2 separate regions of the Homo sapiens genome follow, and region 1 is linked to region 2. Evidence: promoter capture Hi-C in human tissues and cell types (Jung and others, 2019). All regions are on one chromosome and are shown on one strand. The core of a region is centred on a gene start or on the middle of the fragment in contact, and the rest is flanking DNA. Distances in the headings are between cores, read along the strand shown.

Evidence for each region. The method cuts DNA at HindIII sites, captures the fragments that hold promoters and counts their contacts. A contact is called where the count stands out against the background at its distance.
Region 1: a contact is called between a fragment that was not itself captured here and the fragment with the promoter of HNRNPLL in region 2, in 1 of the 25 tissues and cell types used here (heart right ventricle).

Annotation. Positions count from the first base shown.
Region 1 is chr2:38,051,311-38,058,604 of GRCh38, reverse strand. It overlaps a transcript of RMDN2 not described here. Among named protein-coding and RNA genes, the nearest start is that of RMDN2-AS1, 19 kb to the right of the region's middle. The HindIII fragment of the contact is 3,461 bases long and covers 57-3,517 here.
Region 2 is chr2:38,599,992-38,606,798 of GRCh38, reverse strand. It overlaps HNRNPLL (heterogeneous nuclear ribonucleoprotein L like), which reads left to right and starts at 3,871. Exons shown (of 13, transcript NM_138394.4): 1 at 3,871-4,361. The coding sequence starts at 4,173. RefSeq lists silencers at 3,692-3,761, 3,982-4,031, 4,052-4,151. The HindIII fragment of the contact is 14,663 bases long and covers 1-6,807 here.

The DNA of each region.
Region 1 (7,294 bases), core at 538-3,037, 550 kb after region 2:
ATTCAAAGCTATGGTTCCTTATGTTCTATGGGTTCTGCTCTTGCTTCTCCTTCACCTTTGCCTTGGGACAAGCAGCCCCCACACCTGCAGACACAATTTCTGGTCCTGAAGTCCCCTGCCTGAGCAGAGCTGAGAAAAGCTGATGAGGGCTAACAGAATCTGGGGCGTTGCTTCTCCAAGCCTTCCCTTCCAAGGCTGGGAATTAAAGTTCAAAGAGGGTCTTCCCCTCATGCTGCTTCTTCCTGCAGGGCAAAGCTTGAAGGCTTGACCTAAAGAGCTATGTCAATGGATGATGAGAGATTGAATGCTATTTTTCAGATACCTGAGATTTTTCCACCCTGGGCTCCTTCACCCCCTTCCCTAGCCCACAGGGCTGACTCACACTGACCTGGGTTTTTCCCAAAGGCAGAGAAGTCAACATCTCCAGTAGAAAATAAACTCAGGTCAAAAGAACAAGGCATGTGAGGAGCACAATTATTTCCAAAGAAAAAAGGTTAAATTTCCAAGAGTTAAGGTGGCTTTCTAATGCTGCTATTATGAGTCGGACATTTTCCTGGGTAGTTACTCTGCTACTGTTCAGATAGCCTCAATGGGCTCTGTATTAGTCTATTCTCACAGTCCTATGAAGAAATACCTGAGACTGGGTAATTTATAAAGCAAAGAGGTTTAATTGGTTCACGGTTCTGCAGGCTGTACAGAAAGTATAGCAGCAGCTTCTGCTTCTGGGGAGGCCTCAGGAAACTGACAATCGTGGCAGAAGGCAAAGGGGAAACAGGCACTTCTTACATGGCTGGATCAGAAGGAAGAGGGAGGGGGAAGGTGCTACATACTTTTAAACAACCAGATCTCATGAGAATCCACTCACTATACAGTACCAAGGGGGATGGTACTGAACCATTCATGAGAACTCTGCCCATTGATCCAATCACCTCCTACCATGCCCCACCACCAACACTGGGGATTACTATTGAATATGAGATTTGAGTGGGGACATAGATCTAAACCATATCAAATAAAGTGGTTTCTATATCAGGCTCCATTGGCTACCAGCATCTTGGTAAGATGAATCTCCTGTGGTTTACAGCAGAGGTCAGCAAACTATGGCCCATGGTCCAAATCTGGTCCACCACCCATTTTCCATAGCTTGTGAGCTATGCATTATTTTTACACTTTTAAATAGTAGAAAGAAATCAAAAGAGGAAAAGTATTTTATGACACATGAACATTTTATGAAATTCAAATTTCAGTATCCATAAATAAAGTTATGTTGGAGCACAGCCATGCTCATTTGACTGTAATGCCTATGGCAGCTTTTGTACTACAGCAGCAGAGTTGGGTAGTTGTAACAAAGACCACAAGGCACCTGCAAAGCCTGAAATATTTACTACCTGGCTCTTACAGGAAAAGTTTGCCAATCCTGGTCTGCACCATCTATTTCTCACAGCACCAACTAGTAATAGTAACAACCTCTTCATGTTTCTAAAGCACTTTATGGTTGACAAATCACTTCTATGTACATCATTTCCACCTCTGTTTTGAATGGCCCTGGACTGTGCTAGAGCCCTGGACAGTTGATGCTGCTTCACAGAGAGTCATGAACCCACAAAGCTAAGACCCCAAATAAGGCACTAGGAAGCAGAAACAGGTCAAAGGCATTTTTCACAAAGGCAATATTCCATATTGCAAGTGGAGGCATTTTAGCATAGACTAGAGAATGCAGCAGTTAAATGGAAGGAAAAAATCAGACCCACACAGTGTAATAACATAACTAAAACAAAACTGAAAAAAGCTTATAATTTCAGGACTTAAAACCCTTGCTTAATTAAGTTCTTCTTCCTAATTGGGTCTCCATCATTTTATATCATTTAGGGGTATGTCATAATTTCACAATTCTTACACATAGCCTAAGAATGCACCTAATCAAACAAAATTCATTCTCTTATCTAGTCACATGGGACACCCTGAAATAAGTTTGGGAGAATTATTATATGTTCTTACATGCTGAGCACAGTAAATCAAGTGTAATATAGTTTTATATACATTCAGATCATCCAGGCCATCATTTATTCAGCATCTATTATGTCTCTAAGCATTGTTAAGCACTAGTAGATACTATTCTAAGATAAAACTGTTATAAAAATAAACACATGCCCTGATGCAGAGGTGTTCATTTCCTGTTTGAGGAGACACACCGGCATGCCCCAACACAGTGTGATTGATGTTGTAGTAAGTGGTGTATGAAGTGCTTTGGGAACAACGATTAAGAACTACGTAATTCTCCTAGAGACTGTGTGGACATGAGGGTTAGGAAAGGCTCCATAGAGGAGATGCCCTATGAGCTGGGCCTAGATGCTTAGGGGTTGACTAGAGAGACACAATATCAGGGAGGGAGGATGAGAGGATCCTGGACAACGCCCTCCGTGATGAAAGGACCTGCTCCCCACTGGATCCCGGGTGCCTGGCACAGTGCTGCCCCGTCCTATGTGCTCAGTAATAAAATATCTGTTTGAATGAATGTGATGTGCTTGGAGGTGGCAATGATCCAGGTGAGGTGGGGAGCACACGTATGTGTTTGCATGCAGTGTGTGTGTGTATTTGTGTGTGTGTCAGGGTGAGGGAGTGTGGCAGGTACTGTTAATGTCTACCCAATATCCATCACCCTACTTGTTAACAGAACCTTGATTTTTTTCCAGTTATCCAGTCTTCAGGGAAGATGACTCTGTCTCAACTCACAGTAAATCCTGACTAGCCTAAATCAATCATAAAATTCCTATTCCCCTTGCAGTAATTGGTATAGACAGGGGCATGCAATCTATTCCAGCTGATGAGTTGCAAGGGGAAGGTCTATTGAAGGGCTGCTTGAAGGGTTTCTTTGTTCTTTAAAAGACACACACACAAGTAAGAGACAGTGCATCCTCCTCTGTCGAATGCTATTGTGTCTGGATGTGACTCCTGCAGTGATCTTGTAGTCATGAAGGGAGCTAACCTGAGGACCAAGCTGATACTTCAAAAATGACTGTATGAAAAGATGCAAAGATCTTGTCCTTGATGGGGTCATCAAGCCATTAAGTAAACCAACTTAGAGCTTCCTACGCTTCTGATTTTCCTCCAAAGTGAGACAACTAATTTCCTACTTTATAGGACACAGTTGAGTAAGGATTTTCTATTTCTGGTTCTAAGAGCCAAAGACATTTTAACAGATGGGTCAGCTATGTATATAGGGTGAGGGTGAGGTTGGGGAGGTAGGTTGAGGCAGGCTGCAAAGGCTACATGCTGGGTTGAGGAGTCTGTTTTTTTTTCCCATAGGATCCTGGGGTGGGTTGCACAGGAGGAATTAAAACAGGCAAGTGCTTTAGAACGGCAACTTTGACTGCAAGATGTGACAATGGCTTAGAGGGAAGGAGTGAAACTAGGCGGATCATCAAGCGGGGACGGCTATGAAATCATCTAGGCAAGAGGGAAAGTAGACCTGGTCCTGGCCTCACTGAGGAAATAGAGAAGGAGTGGGATTTGAAAGACATCTCAGAGATATAATAAGCAATGCTTGCAATACAAAACTGATAATATACTGTTCTAAAAATATGGTTTATGGTACATAAGACATTTCTGGTAACTTTCTGAATGTGTTTTATTAGTTTTACAAATATAACATGATATCCAAATAATTTCCTGGTGGGACACTTGGAGCCCTTTGTCCCCCCGTCCTTTTGAGAGAGCAGAGCCCTTACTATGGAGCATGTCCTGTGCTGTATTCTATATTAAGTGTGGGCTTGAAGAGGGATGGTCCAGTAGTGAGGTGTCCAGAGTCGTGCACTGGGTAGTTTGACTGCATGGAGCTGGCTGGCAAATCATGGCAGAAATGTTCCTTAAGAAAGATGGTAGAGAAGAGAGAAGAGAATTCATAAATGGGTAGGTGGTCATGCTGCAAGCCACAGAGTGACCCAAAAGAAACAGAGAATTGAACCCTGGAGCAACAAAGCACACGGGAGGGGACAATAAACATGGAGGAAAATGCATTCATTTATTAATCTTGTGATGTAAGACTCTAGTCTTTTCTTTAACCATGCATCTCCATTTTGGAATTTGGGGTATATTTTTTAAGTGAACTATATCCATAATGCATCACCTATGATGTGTAGTTTCTGTGTATTTAAAGTGGAGCAAAAATTTAAAAAATACTTGCAGATCAGTTTGAATGTAGAATTTTTAAGATTGTTCTAATATTTTCTCCAATGTTTTATAGTTGCCTAATCTAACAGTAAAATACTTTTAGCATGTCAACTTTACTGAGTCTTTCCAAAGCATTCATCTTTTTTGTGTTCATCAGTACAGCAGCTCTTTATTTTCACAGTATTACTTGATGAGTTTAATACTATTTAATAAATTAAATTATGTAATTTTGGGAATAATACGCATAAAACAAACCCAAATGATTCTAGATAAACAGAATTCAACTTGAGGAAGCAGAAGTGCACAGGCAAAGTCAAGATTAGCCCACTGGCCATTAGTGTTCAGAGTGTGGGGCATCTACTAGTATAGTTCATAGGAATGAGGTGAGTACAGTAATCTGATAAGTGGTCAACTGGAAATTAATCAATAAAACTCCTAGAATATCTGAATAATAAATTCAACCAATGAGTCGTTCTTGGTAGGTTTACTTCCTCTAACTCTCTGTCTATCAAAATAACTATTTAAAATGAGAGGTTTTCAGTGCTGGCTGCACATTAGAGTCACCTGGAACTTTGAAAAAAATAATGCTTGTGAGTTTGCTCCCCAGGCAAATTAAATCAGAATCTCTAGGGTAGGATCCTGGCATTGGTATTTTTTTCAGAGTGCCCCAGTAAATGCTAATATGCAGCCAGATTTGAGAACCACTGAATAAGATCAAATAGCTCACATAGTGAAAATTAATTCAACTTAGCATAGAAACGTTTATATGAACCATTTGGGATCTAAATTTTAAAATGCATTTTATTACAGTTAAATTGAGTTACTATTGGAATTAATAAAATTCATTCAGGTAAATTTTTTCCTTAGTAACATGCTCTTTGCAAACCGTTTTGTGGACTAGATGAGACTTTTAATTTAATATTTTAAGTGTCTGTGGATAAATAACTGGAACTTCTTGGAGCCCTTGAAAATAGCTTATACACTTTCTTCAGCAGCATTTCTAAAGCTCTCTCCTGCTGTGGCACATATGGTAGATAATGTGTGTGTGTTTGACATTCCCACGAAACCTCAAAAGCTTCTCAGGAAGTTTTAACCAATAATACTGAAAATACCCAACTGCTAATGATAACGTCATAATGATCACTTGTTGTATATTTGGTCTTAGGTAAGTGAGGCTGTGGGTCTTTGGCAATTATATTTAGACAGCACTATTTTTTCCTTCCAAAAAAAATCATAATTTGAGTAAGAAAATCATGTTATTGTAGGGATAATCTTTAGTCAACCACCCTCACTCTTACTTATTTTTAATGGGAATTATTTGCACCTGTGGGTACATTTTAAAAAAATATTACTTTTAATCTCACAATGAATTAAGATGCAGCTGAGATTAAAACCTGCTACCTTGAACTATAACAGAGCCTTGACATTTGGCAGCCTTGACATCTGTAAAGTTGGCAGTCATGGAATTAGTGACTGAGGATCCATTCCACACAGTGATTTTTGCTGAGGCATAAATTTGAATCCTGTGGACAGCAAGGTTAGTGTATGGGAGTGAATCCATTAGCTAGTGAGTGCAGCATTGCCCACCCCCTCATGTCAAAGTAGCATTAACATTTTCTACTTGACTTCAGAGTTCCTGTAATCCTTGGGAACAGAGAAAAGTAAGTTTGAGGATAATGGCCCCAGAAAAAAAACACCAATTGCTGGTGATGGCAGTAAAAAGACAAGTTGTCTGAGGATAAGCATCCTTAGCCAAGTTCATACATGACTATAGAGAATCATTAAGAATATGAAGGTCCTGGGACTATAAAACTACTTGCTCCAGGACATTGGTGTAGGCAAAGATTTTATGGCTAAGACTCCAAAAGCACCAGCAACACAGCAAAAATGGACAAATGGGACTATATTAAACCAAAAACCTTCTGTACAGCAAAGGAAACAATCAACAGAATGAAGAGACAACCTGTGGAATGAGGGAAAATATATGCAAACTATTCATTCAACAAGGGACTAATTTCTAGAATATACAAGGAACTCAACAAAACAGAAAGAAAACCACCAAATAATCCCACTAAAAAGTGGGCAAAGGATCTGAATATACATTTCTCGAAAGAAGACACACAAATGGCCAACAGGTATATGAAAACATTCTCAACATCACTAATCATCAGAGAAATGCAAATTATTATAAGACCACCATGAGATATCATCTTACCACAGTTACAATGTCTATTATCAAAAAGACCAAAAGTAACAGATGCTGGGGAGGATGTAGAGAGAAAGGAATTCTTATACACTGTTGGTGGGAATGTAAATTTGTACAGCCATTATGGAAAACAGTGTAGAGATTTCTCAAAAAACTAAAAATGGAACTAGCATACAATCCAGCAATCCCACCACTGGGTATTTATCCAAATGATAGGAACTCAGCATATCAAAGGGATACCTGCACCATGTTTATTGCAGCACTATTCACAATAGCCAAGACATGAAATCAACCTGCATGTCCATCAACAGACGAATGGATTTAAAAAGTGTGGTATATACCCAATGGAATACTGTTCAACCATAAAAAAAAAAATCATGTCATTTGCAGTAACATGGATGGAACTGGAGGTCATTATGTTGAGTGAAATCAGTCAGGCACAGAAAGACAAATATCTCATGTCTTCATTCATATGTGGGAACTAAAAACTTTAATCTCACAGAGGTAGAGAGAGAGAGTAGAATGAAATTGGGAAAGGTATGTGTAGGGGGAGAGGATGAAGAGAGGTTGGTTAATGGGTACAAACATACAGCTAGACAGAAGAAATAAGTTCTAGTATTTGAAAACAGAAGGGTGAGTATAGTTAATAACATATTGTATATTTCAAAATAGCTAGAAGATTTGAAATGTTCCAAACACAAAGAAATGACAAATGTTAAAGGTGATTGGATATCATAAATACCCCAATTTGATCATTACATATTTTATATGTGTCAGAATATCACATGTACCCCATAAATATGTACAAATACTACGAATAGATAAAAAACTAAAAAAAGAACAGTCACTCAAAATTTTTCCTTCCACCTGATTGCATTGTACAGAGGGAATTTAAAGTTCTATCACCATTCACCAGTG
Region 2 (6,807 bases), core at 2,622-5,121:
TACTTGGGAGGCTGGGGTTGGGAGGATTGCTTGAGCCCAGGAGGTAGATGCTACAGTGAGCTATGATTGCGCTACTGCACTCCACAGCCTGGGCAGCAGAGTGAGATCCTGTCTCAAATAAAGAAATAAATAAAAAGGAGAAATCAGTGAATGAATTAGCATCATTATATAATAAGTGACTATAAATTAGATCTGTATGTCCATGGTAATAAATAACACAATAATTAAATCATCAGTCTTCTGATGACGAGTACTGGCTCTGGAACCCGATTGCTTGGGTTCCAGTCCTGGCTTTTCAATTTATTAACTGCAGCTCTAGGGCAGGTTTCCTTTTTTTTCTTTTCTTTTTTTTGAAACAGGGTTTCACTCCAACACCCAGGCTAGAGTGTAGTGGTGCAGTCACGGCTCACTGTAGCCTGGACCTCCCTGGGCTCAGGCAATCCTCCCACCTCATCCTCCTGAGTGGCTGGGATTACAGGCACGCACCACCATTCCAGGCTAATTTTTACAATTTTTGTGGAAACAGGGTCTTGCCACGTTGCCTAGGCTGGTCTCAAACTCCTGGGCTCAAGTGATCTGTGTGCCTCTGCCTCCCTCTGTGCCCAGCCTAAGGCAGGTTTCTTAATCTCCCCTAGACTGTTTCTTTAATTGTATACTGGGAAGAGTAATAATAATGCCTCTGGTAGAAGGCTTCTGTCAGAATTTATTGACAAAACCCTTTCAGTGGTTAGCACAGTGACTGGCACATTAAATGTGGCTATTAATTATTGTATATGTATTATTACATATGGATGCTTGTAGCCTATCTCTTGGGTATGAGCCTTGTTTCCACAACTTGATTGCAAGCTTTGAGAGGGCAGGGACCAGCTCACGTAGTCCTCTCATCACCTAGCACAATGTCTTATAAATTTTATAGATCAGTAACGAGATTTAAAACTAAAGGGCAATTTGAGGCTGGATTGATTATAAAGGCCCTTGACTCTCAATTTCCCTAGGCCTGCCCTAAGCCTGTCTCCTACTCCAGTATAGCTGGAGTCCCCTTTGAGCTGTGGCAATGGGAGCTCTTGGCTGCTGCCTACTTGACAGCAGCGAATTCAATCAAATGTTCAGAAAATAGTCAAAGGTCTGAGGCCGTAATGCATGAGAGGTTCCAGACAGTCATGGCATTTAGGAGCTGTTTCTGCTTTTCTTAGGTATTTCTGGCTACTGGGCAGTGTGTAATTTCTTTGTCTCACCTAAGTGAAATAATGTAGAGTATAATTTATGTCCTCTCTCTTTAGCTCCTCATGCCCTGGTGATGAGCTAGCTAGTATTTTCCTTATCAAAGGACCTACTGTCACTGTCTGAACAACTCATCTGCAACAAGCTCGCATTTCACCCATGGTTAACGAACTGATTGGTGTCCTTTAAAAATGCTTTCTAAGTTTTACTCCCTCAATATTTTTTTTTTTACTCAACTGGGCTACTTACAAAAAGAACAAAGTTTAATACTGGTACATATTGAATTCCACCTGCTGTTTGTGAACGCTGAGCACAGCAGCCCTAGGTTTGGCAAGGCTGGATTTCCTTACCCATTGGTGTGACAGTTGCATTGTAATGTGGTATAATCCATAGGTTGAATGCAGGGCTTTGAGAATTTAAAATATTTGCATCTTCACAAGAAATATTTGGAAAGTTTGTATAAGGCCTAGTAAATCCAGTTGTGAGTGAATAGAATTTACCAAACTAAATTCACCTAGCATATGAAAATGTACATAAAACAAAATTAACAGGTAGTTGCTCATACTTAACAAAAAGATATTTAGTGCTTCTCATCACACTCAATTATTTCACATAATATTCTATTGTTTTCTTTCTCCTAAAAAATAATTGTTTTAAGCTCTCAGCTCTTCTCTTTTAATTTGAGCAAACTAAAAATATCTTGAGAATGGCCCATCTCACCTCATCAAAGAAGTTTCCTTTGTATCAAGTTTATTAATTCACTCATCCTTTCCTGATCTTTGATACTGAGACTGCTATAAAAAGGACAATGGATGCTAAAGATAACACGTGAAGTAGGTTTGTTAGACCTTTTTTTTGACCCTTGGTATCTTCAGCTTTCTGAAGGCCAGGTAATGTCTGCATTCTGAATATGTTAGGGGACATATGAATCCATAGGACATATTTTAAGCAGAATTGTATCATTGTTTCCCTTGTTGCTATTTTACTTTCCCAAACCATTGCAGAGCTTTTTGCCAATGACATTTTCTCATCCGCAGCCAGCTCTGCCACTCTTTTGCTATTTCTTCTGTCGACTTCCATTTTAATTTAAAAAATAAATTTATAATTTTTTTAGTTCTGTTTTGTCAATGTATACCTGCAGCCGCACACACATTTGATTATAGCTGCATAGTGTGGAAAATCTTGCAATTAGATTCCAAAATGACAGCCGGTGTAATTTACAAAGTACAAAAGTGTTATGTTAAAGCACTCTCAGCAATAAATAAAAATAGCTTTTTTGGAGGAGGAAATAACTTTGGAGAGAACTAGGCTGGAGGAGGAAGCAATCTACACTCTTAGGAAAGGAAGAGCCACATCTAGGAAAGCATCCGAGGGACAAGGACAACAGAAACACAAGAGGCTCTTGATCTCAGGCAGTCCTCCAAGAGGCACCTGACAGAGGGCAGTTAGGTTGCCTTGATTTGCCAGTTTCTGTCCTGAAAGATACACTGGACCTTTATTTCCCAAGGACTACTCATTCAGCATTGTTGAGCACCTAAATTGTGCTGGAGATCGCACAGGAACTGGGCTTGCGAAAATGAAAATTGCACACAGTTCCTGTCTTCAGGCGCTCACAGAGTTTTTAAAACAGAACATCTTAAGAGGGAGTTATAAGGGGCCCTGTTGCAAAAAGAGAGCAGCAACTAAAATCTTGGAAAAGCCCTCAGGACACCACAGAGGAAGCAAGCTGTGATCACAGAACTTTGAAAGGCTTTTGTATCTTTCGACAATAAATGATCAAGTGAAGTAAATACATTGTCCAGAAGAGAAAGAATTGGGATGGAGGATGAGATTTTATATGGAAGGATTAAAACATATTTAACTGGAGCAGGGACTTACAGGGACAGGCAAGTCAGTAAAGGGCCCAGGTTACAAACGAGTTATAACCGATCAGACCGACGAGCGCCCGCGTGCAGCGCCTCCTGCCGACGCGCGCCTCGCAGCCTTCAGTCAATGCTGACAGCTGTTCTCCAACACCCAGCTAGGGGCGGGAGGGTCCGCCCACTTCTACCAGATTTTGCACACAAAACAGTGGAAAGACCATTCTCATGGCTCCAAGCCGTTTTCTCCCTTCATCGCCTGCAATTTTAGGGCTTTTCGGGGGGTATGACTGCAGGGATTTTAGAGGTTTTTTTCCTCATTCTCTTTTTAAGAGGTGATAAAAAGCATTTAAATTAGCGGCAGGGCGGTTAACACCCGCAGCCCTAGCCTCTCCGCACTTCTCGTCGCTCGTCCGTGTTCACTCCACGCCTGGCCTCGGGTAGGAGCCGCATAGCGCCAACGGTTGCGGGTCGCAACTACTCCCAGGCGGCGCGCCTTGCGCGCCGGGCCTCCCAGGACCGCGGCGAGTTCAGAAGGCGCGGGGAGAGAAGTGAGGTCGAGCAGCGGGCGGCTTTTGACGAACGGCCCTCACAGCCAATGGGAAGCCCGGTCGACTTTCCCGCCCCTGCCAATAGGGAGCAGAACCCGGGCCGGGGGGGGCGCTTCCCGCAGGCTGCGGCTGGATTCGATCCTGCGCGACGGCCGCGAAGGCGGGGGCGGAGGCTCGGCCTGCGCGGCTGGGAGCGGCTTAGGGGAGGAGGGAAGACCGGAAGCCACGGTTGCGTCCCCATCCTTAGATTCGCTCCTCCGGGCAGGGAGCGGAGACGGAGGAGGAGGAGGGAGAGGCTGAATGTTGGCTCGGTAATTGAGAGGAGCGGCCGCTCCAGAGCTTCCTCCCGGGGCGCCCCCCTCAGTCCGTCCGCGCTTCTCAGCCGCCAGTCTCCTGGCCGCGCAGTCCCCGCGGACGGCCGGGCCGCGGAGACCCTCGCAGAAGAGGCGCTGCCGGCGGCGAGGACTGGCCGGCGGCATCCGAGGCGCGCGCCCCACCGCCACCCCCACCCGCCTGCCAGCCGGTCCCTCCGGCCGCCGCCATGTCCTCCTCCTCTTCCTCCCCCAGGGAGACGTACGAGGAGGACCGGGAGTACGAGAGCCAGGCCAAGCGTCTCAAGACCGAGGAGGGGGAGATCGACTACTCGGCCGAGGAAGGCGAGAACCGCCGGGAAGCGACGCCCCGGGGCGGGGGCGATGGCGGCGGCGGCGGCCGGAGCTTCTCTCAGCCGGTAACAAAGCGCGGCCCCCCTGTCCGCTGTGCCTGGCTGCTCCCCGGGAAGCAGGGCCTCGGTGCGGGGCCTCCCGCTTGCTTCAGTTAGCCTTTTCCGCTGCGCCGACCCGTTTGGGGAAGCGCCCACTCTTCTCTTTGGGGCTCGTATTCTGGCCTCTACCTGTTTCCCGCATCCCGACTGCGAACCCGGCGCCGTCCTGGCCGCAGGCCCCGCAGCGAGTCCACTGCCGGGCCCTGAACTTGGGGAGGGTCGCGGCGCGGCGGCGGCGGCGGGGAGGCGTCGCTTCCGCTCTGGGGGGTTTCGCGGCTCGGGGAGCTCTTTGTTAGTTTAACTCCTCGGGCTCGGGGCCAGCGTCGGGACCACCGGTTCTCTTCAGTCCCTCTGCCCGCAGCAGCCGCGCGTTGGTCACCATCCCGGGATGGTTGCGTCGGTTCTACCGGGAGCTCTCTCCGCCTCGGTCCTATGGAGACCCGTAATTAAATAACAGATTATGCCTTGGCGTTCACATGCTAGTTCCCTTGAAGGTTTAATTTAAAAAATTTTAAAATTAAACTCTTTATAAGCATGGCGTGCATCCTTTGCTCTACCCAATTTTGTGGATTACTCAGTACACTTTTTACCTCTTCGGTTACAACACTTCAACAGAAGTGTTGGCAGCTGTTGGTACACCCCTACCTTCAAGTAAAACAAATCTTAAAATTACTAAAGTTTTTCATTGGTAATTTATTCCACATTTGCCCCATGAAAGGATGAAGTGAGCTCAGGGTTGCATTAAACACACATTCCTAGAGCCAGGTCTTTCTCTTACCAGAAATGTTAGGGGGAGGCAGAAGGAATGTGATCATTTTGTCCACAGCAAGTAGTTAGCTTCAGTTGGATGGAGACTTTAAGGAAACAAAGCGGAGCAAACGTTATTGCCCTTTTTTGGTGCACTTAAGCGGTTTTAATGACTTAGATGTTATTTAAACATTTAACACATGAATTGTGATTAATTCTGCAAACTTTAACAGAATTACGAAACTGTACACATATATCCTACTATTAGGTTAAAAGGGTTTTTACCTTACCTTTTAAAAATAAGACGCACATTAGAAGCCCTTTATAGCCGTTTGAATTTTTAAATAATAAAAAAAAAGGCTGGTCAGTCACCCAGCGTTGCAGTTTCCAGTTACCAGGATGTGAGAGCAAACTTTGCAACACATTTAAAAAAGGAACTTTTTCTCTCAGTCTTGTTACGGTGTTAGCTATTACTTTAGATTTTTGTGCCGAGCTATTTGAAATATTCAAAATGTAACTTGGAAGTGTGAATAAAGGAAATGGTTTTTTCTTAGGAAGTTTCAGTTCAAAGCCAACTCTGTTGTGGAAATTGGAAACAGGAATATTATAACTGATATTTCGATGTATTCGATCAGTGTACCTCGTTGCTAGAAATCTTGCTTGGGTTTTTGTGCAGCATCATGAAATGTCTTCAGGCATTTTGGAAAGATACTTAAATCAGATTATAAAAATTTGTTTTTGAAAACAGATAAAGCATTAAATCAATAGTATTATTTTGGATGTTGGGAAGAAAATAACATATAATTAATGTATCCAAAGCGAAATGTGTGGAGCGGTGGAAATGGCACTGAGTAGGGCTTGGGGGTGGTCAAGAGTCTAGGCTTAGCATACAATTTTTTTTTTTTTTTGAGAGGATCTCACTCTATGGCCCGGGGCTGGAGTGCAGCAGCTCTGGAGTGCAGCAGCTCGTGATCACGGCTCACTGCAGCCTTGATCTCCCTGTCTCAAGCGATCCTCCTACCTCAGCCTCCCGGGTTGCTGGGACTGGAAGCCTGCATCACCACGCCGGGCCAATTTTTTTTTTCTGTGTTTTGTAGAGAAGGGGTTTCACCATATTGCCAAAGCTAGTCTCTTAACTCCTGGGCTCAAGAGATCCACCTGAGTTGGCCTCCCAAAGTGCTGGGATTACAGCCGTGAGCCACCGCACCTGGTCTTAGCATACAATTTGTGTGAGTCTGAGAAAGTCAGTTTACTACTCTGAGTTCTCTTAGTCTGTAAAATATGAAGGTTGAAACACATGCCTTTTTTAACCGAAGCTATAGTTAAGTGATTAACGTAATGCTAATGCTGCTTTTAAGTTACCCCGGCGGGAACTGATATAAGCAGATTGAGGTATAAATTTTAATTTTTTTGTTTATCTTACTGCTGATATGTTTCCTAGGAAAGGGTGAATTGTTTTCATTTAACAGTAAAACCATCATTGTACTATGAAATCTAATGAAGCCTTGTTTATCTTGTTTTTAAATATTTTTCATGTAATTTTTGGTACTATTTTGAAATCATGGCAACTATGGAAACCTGTACATAATAAAATTCTATTATTAGGATAGACGTTCCCCGGATAGAAGTTTACTGTCTTGTGCTTCTTCGTTCACATGTTTGGTAA